2 separate regions of the Homo sapiens genome follow, and region 2 is linked to region 1. Evidence: promoter capture Hi-C in human tissues and cell types (Jung and others, 2019). All regions are on one chromosome and are shown on one strand. The core of a region is centred on a gene start or on the middle of the fragment in contact, and the rest is flanking DNA. Distances in the headings are between cores, read along the strand shown. Region 1 holds the start of NDUFS5 (NADH:ubiquinone oxidoreductase subunit S5). Region 2 overlaps UTP11 (UTP11 small subunit processome component).

Region 1 (4,600 bases), core at 558-3,057:
CTCAAAAAAAAAAAAAAAAAAAGAATTAGCTGGGCACAGTGGCATGTCTGTAGTCCCAGCTACTTGGGAGGCTAAGCAGGAGGATTGCTTGAGCCCTGGAGTTTGAGGCTGCAGTGATCTATGATAGCACTACTGCACTCCAGCCTGGGTGATGGAGTGAGACCCTATCTCAAATAAAATAATAATTATAATAAAGACTGCCAGGCACATGGTGGCATGCACATGTGGTCCCAGCTATTTGGGAGGCTGAGGTGGGAGGATCACCAGAGCCCAGGGAGGTTGAGGCTGCAGTGAACTGTGATTGCACCACTGCACTCCAGCGGGGCAATGGGAGTGAGAATCTGTCTCAAAAGTAATAATTATATATATATATATTTATATATATATATATATATATATATATATATATATATATATATATGTTCTAGTATTTTCCTCCCATACCTCCAATGTATAATATCTCATGCACCCTGTGGTCCACCCCCCAAAGACATACACACAACACTTTAGAGTCTCTGATGTAGTCAAAGGGAGTCATTGGAGGTTCTGGAACAGATGACAGGCATGGTAGCAGTTGATTCACAAACTGAAAGCTGAGACATCAAAGAACTGCGACTGCCTTGGAATGTTTCCCATGTGCTAGCCACCGCCTCAGTGCTTTATACATAAATCAGTTAATCCCTATAGCAAGCCTCCATTGTGAATACCATAATTATCTTAACAGACGAGGAGACTGAGGCACAATGAAGTTAAGAAACTTTCCTAGAGTCACACGAAATTGGTGGGGGCCTACTTTTTTTTTTTTTTTTTTTTTTTTTTTTTTTTTTTTTTGAGACTGAATCTAGCTCTGTCGCCAGGCTGGAGTCCAGTGGCGCGATCTCACCTCACTGCAACCTCCGCCTCCCGGATTCAAGCGATTCTCCTGCCTCGGCCTCCCCCCACTAGCTGGGATTACAGGCACTCGCTGCCACACCCAGCTAATTTTTGTATTTTTAGTAGAGACAGGGTTTCACCATATTGGCCAGGATGGTCTCGATCTCCTGAGCTTGTGATCCGCCCACCTCGGCCTCCCATAGTGCTGGGATTACAGGCCTGAGCCACTGCGCCCGGCTGGGGGCCTACATTTGACCCCACGTGGTGGTTTGGGCTCATAGTCCATGTGCTTAACCACTAGTGGGTAGGCAGGGAGCCAGTGTTCTTTCTCTCCTGTGACTTTGGTGAAGTCTCTCACCACTCAGTGTTGTCGTGAGCATGCTAGGCAGAGTGCAAGAAAGGAGCAAGAACTCACTAATGGCTAGGCCTTCCCTGTGTCTCTGTAATTGATGGGTTTGGGTTTTTTTTCCTTTCTCTCTCTCTACCTCCTCTCTCTCTTCTTCATCCTCTCTCTCTCACTCTCCCCCTGAGATAAGGTCTTGCTCTGTTGCCAGGGCTGGAATGCAATGGAATGGTGTGATCATGGCTCACTACAGCCTCAATCTCCTGGGCTCAAGGGATCCTCCCACCTCAACCTCCTGAGTAGCTGGAACCACAGGCATGCACCACCTCGCCCGGCTAATTTTTTATTTTTTGTAGAGAGGGGAGTTTCGCCATGTTGCCCAGGCTGTTTTCGAACTCCTGGGCTGAAGTGATCTTCCTCCCTCAGCCTTCCAAGGTGCTGGGATTGCAGACGTCAGCCACCGTACCAGGCCAACGGGCTCGGTTTCTATGGTTTTGTGGGGAGACGGCTGAGGGAAGGTCGGCTTCCGGCGTCGCGCTGCAAACGTCTCGCTGAGGTCATCCTTTACGGCAGGCGTCCGCGTCGCTAGCTAGTCGTTCTGAAGCGGCGGCCAGAGAAGAGTCAAGGGCACGAGCATCGGGTAGGTAGGGGCTGCTTATGTCCGCGCGGCAGCTTAGCTTAAGGACCTTCCTTCCGAGGTCTCTTTAACAGATTTCCTCTTGGCTTGCTGTGTGTCCCCTTCTCCCAGACCTGAACTCAGGGCGTGTTCCCTGCCCTCCCAGGCCGCTTCACCTCCACAGCTAATGGCACCGAAGCCTGGAGATTGCCGCTCTCTCCACTTTCCACATTTGTTTAGGTTTTTGCCGGACTAATGTTTTGGCTTTCTGTTTCTTAACCTAAAGTCTACGATCCTTATCCCAGCTTTCCAGGCTCTGCGTGATTTCGGCCCCGCCGGCCTCCTGAGCTCATTTCATTCTTTTCACCGTCATGCACGCTGCGCTCCATTGTCCCCCAAACATAGCCAGCACTTCCGGCTGTAACTCCGGGCTGTTGCCCAACTGGAACACTCTGCCCACTGATCTTCACTTGGCGAACTCGCAAGCCATGTTAAAGGCATTTTCAAGTCTCCGGGCAGAGTTCGTGCTTCCTCCTTCGAGCTCTTACCCACTCGTGTTCCTTGCAGTGTATTCGCAATTCCGAGTGTGTGTCTCTGGTGCTTACGTTGGAGCTGCTTTCCCCCGCATCTGAGTGCCTGGAACGTAACTACTCAGTAAATGATGACTGAGGGATGGGAAGGAACTTAAGAAGTTAAATTCACCTTTTTGTTGAGATGGAGTTTCGCTCTTGTTGCCCAGGCTGGAGTGCAGAGTGGCGCGATCTCGGCTCACTGCAGCCTCTGCCTCCCGGATTCAAGCGATTCTCCTCCCTGAGACTCCCGAGTAGCTGGGATTACAGGCATGCGCCCCCACGCCCGGCTAATTTTGTATTTTTTTAGTAGAGAGAGGGTTTCGCCATGTTGGTCAGGCTGGTCTTGAACTCGCGGCCTCAGGTGATCCGCCCGCCTCGGCCTCCCAAGGTGCTGGAATTACAGGCGTGAGCCACTGCGCCCAACTAAATTCACCTTTAAATCTACCATGAGTACACATTTATATTGATATTTGTGGGTGTGCGCGCGCTTCCTTTCAGTCATTTTAGGCAGTCAGGGTTTGTTTTTGTGTGTGTGTTTTTACATTTAACATTATTATGTATTTGCATGTAAATTTTTTTCCCTACTGTCTGTAATAGTCTACAAAGTAAGTCTTAACCCATTTCTTTCGCTCTGGTTTTTTTTTTTTTTTGAGACAGGATCTCGCTTTGTTGCCCAGGATGGAGTGCAGTGGCCAGGTCATAGCTCACTGAAGCCTTGAACTCCTGGCCTCAGTCTCCTGCCTCAGCCTTAGGAGTAGCTGGGACTACAGGCGCACATACCACCACAAGTGCCTTTTTTTTTTTTTTTTTTTTTTTTTGAGACAGAGAACCTGACCAAAGGATCCAAATTCTTTTTTTCTTCTTCTTCTTTTTTTTTTTTTTTTTTTTTTGAGACAGAGTCTCGCTCTGTCGCCCAGGCTGGAGTACAATGGCGGATCTTGGCTTATTGCAACCTCTGTCTCCCCAGTTCAAGCAGTTCTCCTGTCTCAGCCTCCCGAATAGTTGGGATTACAGGCATGTGCCAACACGCCCAGCTAATTTTTTTGTATTTTTAGTAGAGACGGGATTTCACCATATTGGCCAGGCTGGTCTTGAACTCCTGACCTCAGGTAATCCACCCGCCTTGGCCTCCCAAAGTTCTGGGATTACAGGCATGAGCCACCGCGCCTGGCCCACAAGTGGCTGATTTAAAAAAAAAATTTAGGCCAGGTGCAGTGGCTCACACCTGTAATCCCAGCACTTTGGGAGGCCAAGGCGGGCGGATCACCTGAGGTCAGGAGTTCAAGACCAGCCTCGCCAACATGCTGAAACCCCATCTCTACTAAAAATACAAAAATTAGCTGGGCGTGGTGGTGCGCACCTGTAGTCCCAGCTACTTGGGAGGCTGAGGCAGGAGAATCGCTTGAACCCTGGAGGAGGAGGTTGCAGTGAGCCAAGATTGCACCATGCGCTGCAGCCTGGGTAACAGACGGAGACTCCATCTCACGTGGTAGGTGAGCCACCGCTCCTGACCGAGAAAGGATTTCTATGCATTGTTCTTTAGTTATAGTTCTCTTTTCCTTGAGTTTTGAAAAAGCGCAAAAACTGCTTATCTGCCATAAACTGGAAGAACCTATTTAATGAAAAAGTTTGGTGAGAAGAAATCAGGAGAATAATATCAAACAGTGTTCTAGAGGGCTACTTAGCATGATTATCTAATTTTTTCTTAGAAATTTCTCAGTTGATTGCCCTCTTGTGGTATTTTATTTACTTATTTTTTTAAATCTTCCATTACAGCCATGCCTTTCTTGGACATCCAGAAAAGGTTCGGCCTTAACATAGATCGATGGTTGACAATCCAGAGTGGTGAACAGCCCTACAAGATGGCTGGTCGATGCCATGCTTTTGAAAAAGAATGGATAGAATGTGCACATGGAATCGGTTATACTCGGGCAGAGAAAGAGTGCAAGATAGAATATGATGATTTCGTAGAGTGTTTGCTTCGGCAGAAAACGGTAAGGAAATGATGGAGGTGGAAGCTGAATTACTTTCTTGTTCCTTTGGGACTCTTTTTTTTTTTTTTTGAGACGAAGTCTCACTCTTGTCCCCTAGGCTGGTGTGTGATGGCGCCACCTCGTCTCACTGTAGCCTCTGCCTCCCAGGTTCAGGCGATTCGCGTACCTCAGCCTCCCGAGTAGCTGGGATTATAGGCACCTG
Region 2 (4,600 bases), core at 1,428-3,927, 1.0 Mb before region 1:
TGATTTGAATCATTTACACTGCATCAGTTTTGCTTCCAATGTTTAATTTCACAGCAGTTTTCTCTAGCTCAGAGGCAGCTAAACTTGCTTTAGTAATATAAATACCCCTAATTAGTTTGACTATATTGGGTAATCCCATAAATCTGACAGTCTGTGCAATAAAGCGAAAACAAAAGCTGTCTGAAACCACTGCTGTGAGACTGTGCTAGAATCTGTGAATTGTTGAAGTCTAAGGCCCAGTAATATTTCCTTCTGTAGATAACACTTCCAGCCAAAGAGCTTGCTCATGAGTGTTCTTGTGATAACCCTGTTGTTTGTCAATTAGGTGTACTTTTTTTTTTTTTTGAGACGGAGTCTCACTCTGTCACCCAGGCTGGAGTGCGGTGGCGTGATATCGGCTCACTGCAACCTCTGCCTCCTGGGTTCAAGCAATTCTCTTGCCTCAGCCTCCCGAGTAGCTGGGATTACAGGTGCCCGCCACCACGCCTGGCTAATTTTTTGTATATTTAGTAGAGACAGGGTTTCACCATTTTGGCTAGGCTGGTCTTGAACTCCTGACCTTGTGATCCACCCACCTCAGCCTCCCAAAGTGCAGGGATTACAGGCGTGAGCTACCGCGCCCGGCAATTAGGTGTACTTTCAATTAGCCGTGTCACTGACGCTTCTCAAGAATTGTGGTAGTCCCTAAAGAGATTAGTATTCCAAATTCCCATGTAGAATAGTTCACCAGCATAGCTTTTGAGAAGTTAGGGAGGTTTAGATTTTTGCCATTTTTGTCTAGTAATTATGTTTCTTTCTATTTTGTTTACTGCAAAATCATTTTTATTAAGAGACTGCTGGTGGGTGGATTGCAAGGATATTTTGTCTGTAACTTCGAGTGGGTAGACAACCCATGAGTGAGCTTTAGGAGGTCTGAGAAAACCCCCCTTTCTCACTGGTATTTTGTGCAGATAGGTATATGTGCTTGCACAACCTTTTACAAATGTGTATGTACATTTATCTCAAGAAACATCCCATGCTGGGCGTGGTGGCTCATGCCTGTAGTCCCAGCAATTTGGGAGGCCAAGGCAGGTGGATCACTTGAGGTCAGGAGTTCGAGACTAGCCTGGCCAATGTAGTGAAACCCTGTCTCTACTAAAAATACAAAAATTAGCCAGGCGTGGTGGCGGGCACCTGTAATCCCAGCTACTAGGGAGGCTGAGGCAGCAGAATTGCTTGAACCCAGGAGGCGGAGGTTGTAGCGAGCCGAGATAGTGCCACTGCACTCCAGCCTGGGCGACAGAGCAAGACTCCGCCTCAGAAAAAAAAAAAAAAGAAGAAAGATCCCAAAGCTTTCATCAGTTTCTCTGAGGTTGATGATTCCCCAAAATGTAAGGACCCCACTGATCTTTGAGGAGTCATTAGCAGTGAGAATTCTCAGGTGAGCTTCTGCTGAAAAAATTCTTCTGCTTTCTGAGTGGTAAGATTTTCAGGCACCAGCACACTGCCTGGGGACCCTTCTGTTGCCGACTCTTCTGTTGCTCTCCATTCACTTTGTATAGGGTTTCCAACACTGATTCATTCCTGCCATCATCTCAGGTGACTGTGGCACTCACACAAAGGTTGAAGCAGCTTAGTGTAGTAGTGGAAAGATTCCTGGGATTTGTGAGAGGGGGACGGTCCTGACTCTGCTCCAGGTGAGCTGTGTGTCCTTGGACCACTTCTTCTCTGGGCCTCATTTTTCTGCGTTTGTAAATGACGGGTTTCGATAAGATAGTCTACAGGGTTCCTTTTTTAATTTTTAATTTTTTTTTTTTGAGACAGAGTCTCATTATGTTGCCTACGTTGGTCTGGAACTCCTGGGCTCAAGTGACCCTCCCTCCTCAGCCTCCCAAAGTGCTGGGATTACTGGCGTGAGCCACTGCGTCTGGCCCAGGGTTCCTTTCAGCTCCAGAATGTGATGTTCCTAAAATGGGCAACGTTATTGTTACCACGTTATGTTGATTCTGGTGAAAGAAGGGAGTTGATGAAACTATGCAGTTGGCTTAAATGGATTAAGAAACAGTTTCTTACTCATTTTTGTCCTGTTCATTGTTCACTGAGAATGTGTGTGTTTCTTCTCCAGCGAATAGCTAAAGAAAGGCAAAAGCAGTATAACTGCCTGACACAGCGGATTGAACGAGAGAAGAAATTGTTCGTTATTGCTCAGAAAATTCAAACACGCAAAGATCTTATGGTGAGGAGAGAGAGCCTTAGGCCTCTTTTTTTTTTTTTCCCCCTTTTCTTTCTTGTAAAGGTCTTAACTCAGACTAGATTTCAGCTGTGTGTAAATCAACCCCAGTGAAAATGTCTGCTCCTCAGGGGCAGTGGTTTGAGCCAGTGTCTGTTACTCTGACAGTGTTGAAATGCGCCTTGATTAAGGAGGTAATAAGGGGGTTATTAGTCAGTGCTTTGGAACAGCAAAGGGTAGGATCGGGTAGCATATGAACTTTATAGCTTATGAGCAGCTCCCGTAACATTTAAACAGGTTAACAAAACAGTGCATGTCACTCATTGGTGTTTAAAAATAGACAACATTGTGTAGTTAAATAGCAGAGCTGAGGAATATAAGATGCCTCTTTCATATTCTTATCATTCCTCTAAATGTCAAATTCTTTAGCTTTGTAGATCATTTAGGTCAGCCTTTCTCAACTGGGGTTCCGTGAGAGAATTAAAATTATAATTTTAAATGAAACAACTACTTGAACACCTTTCTTCTCAGTTTTCCTAGGACTGTACACAGCTAGTACTTTCTAGATGCCTAGGGGAGAAGTTAATTCATTGCCTACAGTGGATGCCTTGGGCAGTAGGGCTGTGTCCGTTCTCAACTTTGAGAAGGGCTGAAGCAGGTGCTAATAGGTAGTTTATTAACCTTTCGATTTTACAAAACCATTTCCTTCTCTTTACTGATCACCTTTTTACTCTTTTGTAGGATAAAACTCAGAAAGTGAAGGTGAAGAAAGAAACGGTGAACTCCCCAGCTATTTATAAATTTCAGAGTCGTCGAAAACGTTGACGTGTTATAGATAAGCCTTGTCATTCTGTATCAAAAATCTGTTGTCGTTTTCTAGTAACTTCAAATTCCATTACTCCAAATGGCATGGTTTTCCGGTTTGTAACCATAACTAAATTGTCAGTCTGACATTTAATGTCTTTCTATGGACAACATTAAATCTCCCTCCCTTCTGTAATTGTTTTTGGATTGTGAAATTAGTCTTATTTTTATATACTTAATTTTTTTTTTCTTTGAGATAGGGTCTTTGTTGCCAGGCTGGAAGTGCAGTGTGTGATTATGGCTCACTGCAACTTTGAACTCCTGGGCTCAAGTGATCTTCCTGCATCAGCCTCTTGAGTAGCTGGGACCACAGACATGTGCCACCATGTCTGAGTAATGTTTAAATTTTCTGTAGAGACCAGGTTTTGCCATGTTGGCCAGGCTGGTTTTGAACTCGTGGCCTCAAGCGATCCTCCCACCTTGGCCTCCCAAAGGGCTGGGATTACAGGGATGAGCCACTATGCCCAGCCCATAATTTTTTTTGTTATGAAACATAGGATCTCATTACAGCAGATTTGGAAAGTAGATTAATTCATTCCTAATCCCAGTGCTTATTCAATAATAACAAATATTTATTGCATGCTTAACTGTGCTAGGAGCTAGAGCTGTGGAGGTGGACAATTACTGTGAGTAGTCTAGTTGATTTCCTCCATTTTGTAAAACGAGGCATCACTTTTTGTCCATGTTTTTGTGTTTTATAGTTACAGTAAACAATTTGATGTCCTACTTTTTTTTTTTTTTTTTTTGAGACGGAGTCTCGCTCTGTCGCCCAGGCCGGACTGCGGACTGCAGTGGCGCAATCTCGGCTCACTGCAAGCTCCGCTTCCCGGGTTCACGCCATTCTCCTGCCTCAGCCTCCCGAGTAGCTGGGACTACAGGCGCCCGCCACCGCGCCTGGCTAATTTTTTTTTGTATTTTTTTAGTAGAGACGGGGTTTCACCTTGTTAGCCAGGATGGTCTCGATCTCCTGACCTCATGATCCACCCGCCTCGGCCTCCCAAAGTGCTGGGATTACAGGCGTGAGCCACCGCGCCCGGCCGATGTCCTACTTTTTAATTAAATCATTAGCTCTTTCCCAGTTTGTTACATCACAAAAGTTTTTTACAGTAATATATGCTAGAGTAAACGTTAAAATAAATATTATTTTTAATGATTGCATAGTGTTTTATCTAGTGGATAGACTGATTTTACCCTCACTCATTCTTCTTTTATTGGCTATTCAGGTGGCTTCATAAATTATCCAAGGAGGAATTTTTTTCTCTTACTTAACAGCTGCAGATAGAAACTCTTGGAACAAGGAACCTACGGGAGCACCTCTTCCTTATTGATGAAGCTCAAATCAGTATAGGCCTGGCTGTGTCTCTGTCCTCTGCACTCCATGCCAACTCACAATTCCAAGGCTAGAATAGCTTGGTGCAGACCTTCACTCTGGGAATATGGACCCCTGGGTGTGTTGGCCAGCTTCTTTCTCTTCTCTGGTTCTCTCCTTCCTTTGTTTGCCCATATCAGGATTATAGGCCAAGGACA

Evidence for each region. Contacts are between HindIII fragments. The study calls those that stand out against the background at their distance.
Region 2: a fragment that was not itself captured here is called in contact with the fragment with the promoter of NDUFS5 in region 1 in 1 of the 25 tissues and cell types used here (dorsolateral prefrontal cortex).

The regions. Positions count from the first base shown.
Region 1 is chr1:39,024,543-39,029,142 of GRCh38, forward strand. It overlaps NDUFS5 (NADH:ubiquinone oxidoreductase subunit S5), which reads left to right and starts at 1,808. Exons shown (of 3, transcript NM_004552.3): 1 at 1,808-1,860; 2 at 4,181-4,398. The coding sequence starts at 4,183. RefSeq lists enhancers at 1,640-1,889, 1,749-2,335, 2,336-2,921 and a silencer at 3,692-3,857. The HindIII fragment of the contact is 8,915 bases long and covers 1-4,600 here.
Region 2 is chr1:38,020,595-38,025,194 of GRCh38, forward strand. UTP11 (UTP11 small subunit processome component) reads left to right here. Exons shown (of 8, transcript NM_016037.4): 7 at 2,105-2,215; 8 at 2,951-4,226. The coding sequence ends at 3,034. Among named protein-coding and RNA genes, the nearest start is that of UTP11, 10 kb to the left of the region's middle. The HindIII fragment of the contact is 9,293 bases long and covers 1-4,600 here.